Linked DNA regions of Homo sapiens: region 1 is linked to region 2. The links are contacts of gene promoters, found by promoter capture Hi-C in blood cells and fetal thymus (Javierre and others, 2016). All regions are on one chromosome and are shown on one strand. Each heading gives the region's core, a stretch centred on a gene start or on the middle of the fragment in contact. The rest is flanking DNA. Distances are from core to core; before and after follow the strand shown. Region 1 overlaps GABBR2 (gamma-aminobutyric acid type B receptor subunit 2). Region 2 holds the start of ANKS6 (ankyrin repeat and sterile alpha motif domain containing 6).

The links. Contacts are between HindIII fragments. The CHiCAGO score rates a contact against its expected background, and 5 or more counts as called.
Region 1: a contact is called between a fragment that was not itself captured here and the fragment with the promoter of ANKS6 in region 2, in 2 of 17 cell types (M1 macrophages and M0 macrophages). The highest score is 5.3, in M1 macrophages.

What each region holds. Positions count from the first base shown.
Region 1 is chr9:98,333,951-98,338,229 of GRCh38, reverse strand. The region is part of intron 13 of GABBR2 (gamma-aminobutyric acid type B receptor subunit 2); the gene reads left to right. Among named protein-coding and RNA genes, the nearest start is that of TBC1D2, 80 kb to the right of the region's middle. The HindIII fragment of the contact is 1,001 bases long and covers 2,401-3,401 here.
Region 2 is chr9:98,794,111-98,798,159 of GRCh38, reverse strand. It overlaps ANKS6 (ankyrin repeat and sterile alpha motif domain containing 6), which reads left to right and starts at 1,605. Exons shown (of 15, transcript NM_173551.5): 1 at 1,605-2,027. The coding sequence starts at 1,669. RefSeq lists enhancers at 1,341-1,841, 1,842-2,342 and a silencer at 1,463-2,082. The HindIII fragment of the contact is 11,591 bases long and covers 977-4,049 here.

The DNA.
Region 1 (4,279 bases), core at 1,652-4,151, 460 kb after region 2:
TAGCTAAGAAACTATTGTCTGATCCAAGCTCATGAAGATTTACACTTATGTCTTCTTCTAAGAGTTTTATACTATTTGTTCTTACATTTAGGTATTTGATCCATTCTGAGTTAGTTTTTGTACATGGTATGAGGTAGTGATCCAAATTAATTATTTTGCACGTGGATATATAGCTGTGCAAGCACCACTTGTTTGTTTTGGTTTTTTCGAGACGGAGTTTCACTCTGTCGCCCAGGCTGGAGTACAGTGGCACAATCTCAGCTCACTGCAAACTCCTCCTCCCAGGTTCAAGCAATTCTCCTGCCTCAGCCTCCCGAGTAACTGGGATTACAGGCACCCACCACCATGCCTGGCTAATTTTTGTTTTTTTAGTAGAGACTAAAAAAATAGGCTCTTGGCCAGCCTGGTCTCAAACTCCTGACCTCAGCCTCCCAAAGTGCTGGGATTATAGGCGTGAGCTACCGCCCCTGGACACCACTTGTTGAAAAGAATATCCTTTCCCCATTGAATAGTCTTGTAACCCATGTTGAAAATCAGCTGACCATGGATGTGTACTTGTATTTCTGGATTCTCAATTCTATTCCACCAATTTATATGTCTATCCTTATGCCAACACCATGCTGACTTGATTATTGTAGCTTTGTGGCAATTAAAATTGGAAGTGTGAGTCTTCTGATTTTTTTCTTCTCTTGCAAGATTGTTTTAGCTATGCAGGGTCCCTTGAGATTCCATATGATTTATACGATCAGTTTTTTCATGTCTGTAAAAAAGGCTGTTGGGATTTTCATAAGCGTTGATTTGAGTTTGTAGATAATATGGGGAGTATTGCCATCTTAAGAATATTGTCTTCCAATTCATGAACATGGGCTATCTTTTCATTTATTTAGGTCTTCTTTAATTTCTTTCAGCAATTTTTTTTTCTTCCGAGATGGAGTCTCACTCTGTCACCCAGGCGGGAGTGCATTGGTGCAATCTTGGCTCACTGCAACCTCCGCCTCCCGGGTTCAAGCGATTCTCGTGCCTCGGCCTCCTGAGTAGCTGAGGTTACAGGCACCCACCACCATGCCTGGCTAATTTTTGTATTTTTAGTAGAGACAGGGTTTCACTATGTTGTCCAGGCTGGTCTTCAACTCCTGACCTCAGGTAATCCACCTGTCTTGGCCTCCCAAAGTGCTGGGATTACAGGTGTGAGCCACTGAACCCAGCCTTCTTGGTGGATTCTTTAGAATTTTCTACCCATAAGATTATATAATTTGCAAATAGAGAGTTTTGCTCCTTTCATTCCAATTTGTATGCTTCATATTCCATTTTCCTGAATAGCCAAAAAATTCTCGGATAGACTTTCAACCTACTTATATCTTTGAATCAAAAGTGAGTCACATATACAGCAAATATAGTCAGATCATGTTTTTTTTAATTCATTCTGCCAATCTCTGCATTTCAATTGGAGTGTTTAATCCATTTTATGTAATTACTGGAAAGGCAGGATTTACATCTGCCATTCTGGAAGATACTTTTTTGTTTTTGAGACAGAGTCTCCCTCTGTCGCTCAGGCTGGAGTCAGTGGCGTGATCTTGGCTCACTGCAACCTCTGCCTCCTGGGTTCAAGCGATTCTCCTGCCTCAGCCTCCCGAGTAGCTGGGACTACAGGCACATGCCACCATGCCTGGCTAATTTTTGTATTTTTTAGTAGAGACGGGGTTTCACCATATTGGCCAGGCTGGTCTCAAACTCCTGACTTTGTGATCCACCCGCCTTGGCCTCCCAAAGTGCTGGGATTATAGGCATGAGCCACTGCGCCCAGCCAGATATCTTTTTTAAACGCACGACGTATCTTACTATTTTGCACTTAAAATTCTCCAATTTAAAATAAAACCCACACTTCTTACCTTGCTACAGGTCCTACACAATCCAGTCCCACTCCATATCTGACTTCATCTAGTTCCTCTCCCTGTGCTCACCCCAGTCTTTAGCCATGTGGGCCTTCTGTCTGGAGCTCTAACACTCCAACTTTATTCCCAACTTTGTGCCTTTGCATTCATGATTCTTCTGCCTGGAACGCTCTTCCTCCAAACCTTTTCAGACTCTTTCCTGTCATTCAGATCTAGCTTAAATGCCACCTCCCTGATCACCAGATCCTTAAATGTCCCCCAACATTCTTTCTCACCTCCCCTGTTTCTCCATCACATTGCTTATTCCTCGTTCTCTCATCTATATTCTATCATCCACTAGAATGTGAGCCCCATGAAACAGGGCCCTTAACTATCTTACTCAGAGCTCTTTCTCCATGGCCTTGCACAGGGCCAGACAGACACACAGCTCAATATATGTTGGTTGAATGGATGAGTGAATGAATGAACAAAGGAATGCGTGCATGAATGAATGGATGATGGACAAGCTTCCCTGGCATGATTCTTGTCAGCACTGACAACAGCTGAGTAGGTAATGTGGTTGCTCAGTAGCTGGATTGAACTATTGGATGAATATGTTGATACTAAAAAGAAAAATAAGTAATGTTTTAAAGGTGAAGAGGAAGTTTGGTTGTTGTTGTTGTTGTTGTTGTTGAATGATTTCAAAGAGAAACTTGACTCGTGGTTCTCAATCCTGCTACATCACCCAGAAAAGATCTTTTTGAAAATACCGGCCCGGGTCACACCCCCCAAAATATCTGATTTAACTGGCTTAGAAAGGGCCCTGTGCATCAGGAATTTTTTAAAGTTGCCATGGGTTCTGGTGTGCAGCCGGAGTTGAGATTCTCTGGTCCAGACTCTCACGAATCTCTAGGAAGGGCCCAAGACTGTACCTTGGATACCAGGGTGATAAATAGACTCAGGACAATAAATTTTTACGACTAGAAAGTAAAAGAAGAAAAGGCTGAATCCAGAAAATCTGAAGTCCAGTTGGTCCCTGCCAGCCAGAGATGATGATGATGACAAAAGAATTACAGACTCAGAGAGAGGCCCACCTGGGGAGTTCATGTGTGCAGACCCCAAAGAGCTACGCAGGCCCTCTGGTCTCATATTTTTCTGAAAATCTTTGTGTTAGCATTTGAACAATTGTTTCTCCAGTGGAAGAGAGAGAGCAAGGAAGAGGAAAAAAGGGAGGTTTCTATGAGGTTTCTATTTCTGCAGCATTGTTCATTGCAATGGGAAGACAGAGGGTGAGCAAGTTCCACACCAGAACTTTAGGCAGGTTTGTTTCTAAGTGCTCTACAATCACAAGGAAACCACTGACCACAGAAACCAACAGGGAAGAAAAAAGGACAAGGGAACCACAGTGTCCAGGCACCTCAGCACTCATGGTGGCTCGGAAAGGAACCGCCAGCCCTGTGGTGGGATGTTCATTCTTTTCTGCCCTTGTTTAGCTTGAAGTTTCTCCCTAAAGCGATAGTGGATTAAGCTTCAAATACTGAGTTGTTTTGTCCTTGACAAAGGATGAAACATTTAACATGCCCCAAAGATGCTCTGTTCATGTCAGAGGAGGCTGAGACAACCTGTGAACCACCCCTTAGGGGACAGCAGCCAGAAGAAACACGATCATTGCTGGTCCTGCCCAAATCTCACTTCCCAGCCCACCCACCCATACTCTTGCCCTTCTCTGGACTGGTACCCCAACTCCAGGCTTACCCTACTCACATGCAAGCACCCAATAGTAAGCAAACACGTACTATAATAATGACAACAGTGTCTCACATTTCAACAGCATGGCAAAGTTCACAAAGCACCTTGACATCCCCATTTTAGAGATTCATCAGAGGAAACTAAAGCTGAGTAGGTGACCTGACTGGCCTGAGATAACCTTGCTTGCTACGCATGAGAACTGGAACCCAGCCCAAGCCTTGTGGTATTGGATGAGTCAGTATCCCTTCCACTGGGATTGATCCATTCACACTTCCTGCTTCTTTTTGCATCCGTCCCTTTGTTTTCTTTTTCTTCATTGATGCTTTCAAAATTATTAGCTTCCAATTGTGCATAATGTTCTCTTACAAATGCTTAAATCTCTTTCACATCTGTGATTATCTGGTTGATGGTTCATGAGAGTGAACAGATATTCAAATCCAGCAAGTTTAGATCTGAGAGCTTCACCTTCCAGTCCCGCTTCATCCTTAGTACTAGATCTACTCAGCCTTCTTCTAGGATTTCAACAAAGCTGCATTGTCTTAGGAGTAACAATAGCAAAAATAATCATAGCAACAGCTTTTCTTGAGTGCATGCTATGTGGTAAGCACTGTTCCAAGTTCTTTGCTTTATCAACTCATTCAGTCTTCACAACAACCCCA
Region 2 (4,049 bases), core at 356-2,855:
GGCTGTGGAGAAAATACACTGTTGGTGGGAATGCAAACTAGTTCAGCCACCGTGGAAAGCAGTTTGGAGATTTCTCAAAGAACTTAAAATAGAACTATTTGACCCAGCAAACCTACTACCAGGTATATACCCAAAGGAAAATAATTCATTCTATCAAAAAGACACCTGTATATTCATTGCAGTGCCATTTACAATAGCAAGGGTATGGAATCAACCTAAGTGCCCATCAACAGTAGATTGGATAAAGAACATGTGGTACAGAGCCAGATGTGATGGCTCACACCTGTAATCCTGGCACTTTGGGAGGCCACAGCAGGTGAATCACTTGAGCTCAGGACTTTGAGACCAGCCGGACAACATGGTAAAACCCTTTCTCAACCAAAAATACAAAAAATTAGCCGGGTGTGGTGGCACTTGCCTGCAGTCCTAGCTACTCGGTAGGCTGAGGTGGGAGGATTGCTTGAGCCTGGGAGGCAGAGGTTGTGGTGAGTAGAGATTGCACCATTGCACTCCAGCCTGGATGACAGAGCAAGACCCTGTCAAAAGAGAGAGAGAGAGAGAGAGAGAGAGGGAGAAAGGGAGGGAGGGAGGGAGGAAGGAAGGGGGATAGGGAGGGAGGGAGGGAAGAGAGGGAAGGAATGAAAGAAATGTGGTGCATATACACGATAGAATATGATGGAATACTACGGAATACTATGCAGCCATAAGAATGAACGAAATCATGCCCTTTGCAGCAACATGGATAAAGCTGGAGGCCATTATCCTAAGCGACCTAAAAAGAACAGAAAACCAAATACTGCATGTTCTCACTTATAAGTGGGAGCTAAACATTGAGTACACATGGACACAAAGATGGGAACAACAAACGCTGGGGATCGCTAGGCCAGGGAGGGATGGAGGGGACTCTGGGCTGAAGAACCTCTTGGTGGGTATTATGCTTACTGCCTGGGTGACGGGATCGTTGGGACCACAAGCTTCAGCGTCGCGCAATTTACCCATGTAACAATTTACCCATGTAACAAACCTGTACCCTTTAATCTATAATAATAGTTGAAATAAAAGGTGGGGGAGAGAGAGAGAACAGGAGGCGCTTTTAGCCCCAGCAGCCTGGCCCAGATGAAGGAGCGACATTAAGGGCACCGCAGGACACTGTGAGGAAACAATCCGTTCGTTCCTTAATTCAGCCGCTTCCTTATTCTAGAAGGGCAGGTTCAGTGCCAGGGGCTGCGGTGGGGTCAGCGGAGCCCGCTAGTAAAGTCAAGGCCCACGCAGCTGCGGACTCAGACCCGGGCCCAGGGCCCTGACCACAGCGTGAAGAGGGGATGGCGTGGCCGCTCCCACCTCTGCCCTGACAGGAAGTTTCTGGAGCCCCGGGACAGGGCGGCGAGAGGGCGCCGAAGAGGCAAAAGGGAACACGCGGGTCTGCGGCGGGCGCTCCTCTGAGCGTCCCTGGACTCCCGAATACGGGCACTGGAGGTGCGCAGCCCCGGCCCTAGCGCGCTCCCGGCACACAGCAGGCGCGCGGCCCTAGCCCCGGCGCGCTCCCGGCACACAGTAGGCGCGCGGCGCGGGCGGGTGGCCGGAAGGGGGCGCCTGCGGGCGGTATCCGGGGGCGGAGCCGACGCGGCCGGCGGGGCGGACGGGAGCGGGCCGCGCGTGGCGGCGGCGATGGGCGAGGGCGGGCTGCCCCCGGCCTTCCAGCTGCTGCTGCGCGCGTGTGACCAGGGCGACACGGAGACGGCGCGGCGGCTGCTGGAGCCGGGGGCGGCGGAGCCAGCCGAGCGCGGCGCGGAGCCGGAGGCGGGCGCGGAGCCGGCGGGGGCCGAGGTGGCCGGGCCCGGGGCCGCAGCGGCGGGGGCAGTCGGGGCTCCGGTGCCCGTGGATTGCTCGGACGAGGCGGGCAACACCGCACTGCAGTTCGCCGCGGCCGGGGGCCACGAACCGCTGGTGCGCTTCCTGCTGCGCCGCGGTGCCTCGGTCAACAGCCGCAACCACTACGGCTGGAGCGCGCTCATGCAGGCGGCCAGGTGAGGCGGCGGGGCCCGGGGGCCCGGGACCAGAGTGGTGCCCGGCGCTGGCCCGAGACGCGGTCCCCGGCGGCCGGATGCCCCGGGAGGTGAAGAGTTAAGGACTCCTTAGAGTTGGAATGGTAAACTTTGAGTAGTCTTTTGTAAACTTTGAGCATAGACGTGGAAACACTTTTGAATTAACATAAAATCAGATTCTTAGAAATTTTGGCCTTTCAGAATAGAATCTGGAGACAGCGAATAGAATTGTAGAGACTTAGAACCTTAGAGATTTAATTCATTTCTTATTGCAGTAAGAGTTTCCTCAGAACCTGCCTTCCCTTCCTGGCTTGGCGTTGAGGGTGCTGCGAGACCCAGGCAGAGTCCCCACCCAGGGCATTGGTGGGCAGGCCAGGCAAAGGAACGAGCTTGACCGGAAAGGTTTGAGTAGCTGTGGGGCAGGTGACCCATTTTGGAGACGTGGGGGAAGGTTTCTGGTAGAAAAGATGTTTATATCCACGTGGAGACCTGCGGATACCTGAGAATTAGCCAGGACATTACAAGTGGGCTGTGGGAAGGCATGATGGGAGGCCCATGCAAAGGCTTGGGTGCACGAGCTGGTAGGACTGGTAGAATGAGGTATGCGTAGAATGTATGAGTAGAATGATGTACTAGTCCTCCCTGGAGAGAAGGCAGATGCCAGGGAGTTGGGGGAGTGTGGGAGCTGAGAAACGCTAGCTATCCTAGGGTGCTAGGGAGTCATGGAAGGTGCTAGGGAGTCATGGAAGGTTCTAGGCAGAATGAGTGACAGGATGAGAGTTACGTTTTGGAAAAATTACTTTCCTTGAAGTGTGAGAATAGATTAGATACTCTAGGGTAAGCTAGAGTCAAAAAGGCTGGTTAGGTAGAGTTTGCTGCAGTCTGAGTGAGAGGTGATGGTGGCCTAGACCAGAATGGAGACAGCGGAGGGAGGGCACCCAGATGAATTTGTGATATATTCAGGGAGTAGATCAGCAGGAGTTGACGACTGGCCCTTGGGGAGGGGTTAAGAGAGACAGCAAGGATGGCATCTAGAGATCTGGCTTCTGTGAAGCCTGCCATGATATCTCCCTGTTCTCTGGTCCCTCCGCAGCAGAAAGGCCTCTGTGGTAGCATCCATCACACCATGTTAATGCTGACTGGCTTCCTCAGTACCCAAACCTGGCCACACATCAGAATCACCAGGATGCTTGTCTAAGTGCAGATTCCTGAGTTCCTTTTCTGGAGATTGTGATTTAGAAGGCCCAGGGCAGTGAGGGGAGTAAGAGACAGGGACTCTGTGTGAGAAGAGGCTCCCCAGTGATTCTCTTGTATGGTAGGTTTGGGAGCCACTGATGTGTTATGTGTGTCTCATCTCTGCAATCCACCAAGTGCGTGCACAGGGGCCCTGGTGAGCCCCCTGAGGAATTTACTGAGTGAGGTTTGTGACTACAGCACTGACATGCCTCAGAGTGTCTCAGAGACCCCAGATCATCAGTTTTAACCAAGTTCTGCAGGATAGTCTTGAGCCTGGGTATTTTAAAATGTGCTGTTCCTCAGTTGGTGTGACACCGACTCTATATTCAGGTAGCATCTCTGCCTGTGTTGAGTTGTGCTCCAGCTTTCTGCTGCGTAATTCATAAGAAAAGGTCAAGTTGAGGAGTAGTATATATGGAAGACTTCCAGAAGGATGTACAGTGTGTCTGTCCCTCACATCGGGGTAGGCAAATGAATGGCCTGTGTGCTGACACCTTCCAGCCTTGTGCTCTTCTTCCTTGGATCTGGATACGCCCCCAGAATCCTGCTCAAAACCACACCCCTGGCAGCCACCACGCTGGGTCTGAGCAAGCATCTATTTATCGTCCCAGCTCTCTGTGTGGATCAGGCCAGACTATTAGACACCCTGTGCCTTTGGTCTTTTGTGGGTGTTTTAGTATTAGAAATGGTGACCTTAGTGTTTTTTCCTGTTCTTTTTTTTTTTTTTTTTGAGACGGAGTCTCGCTCTGTCACCAGGCTGGAGTGCAG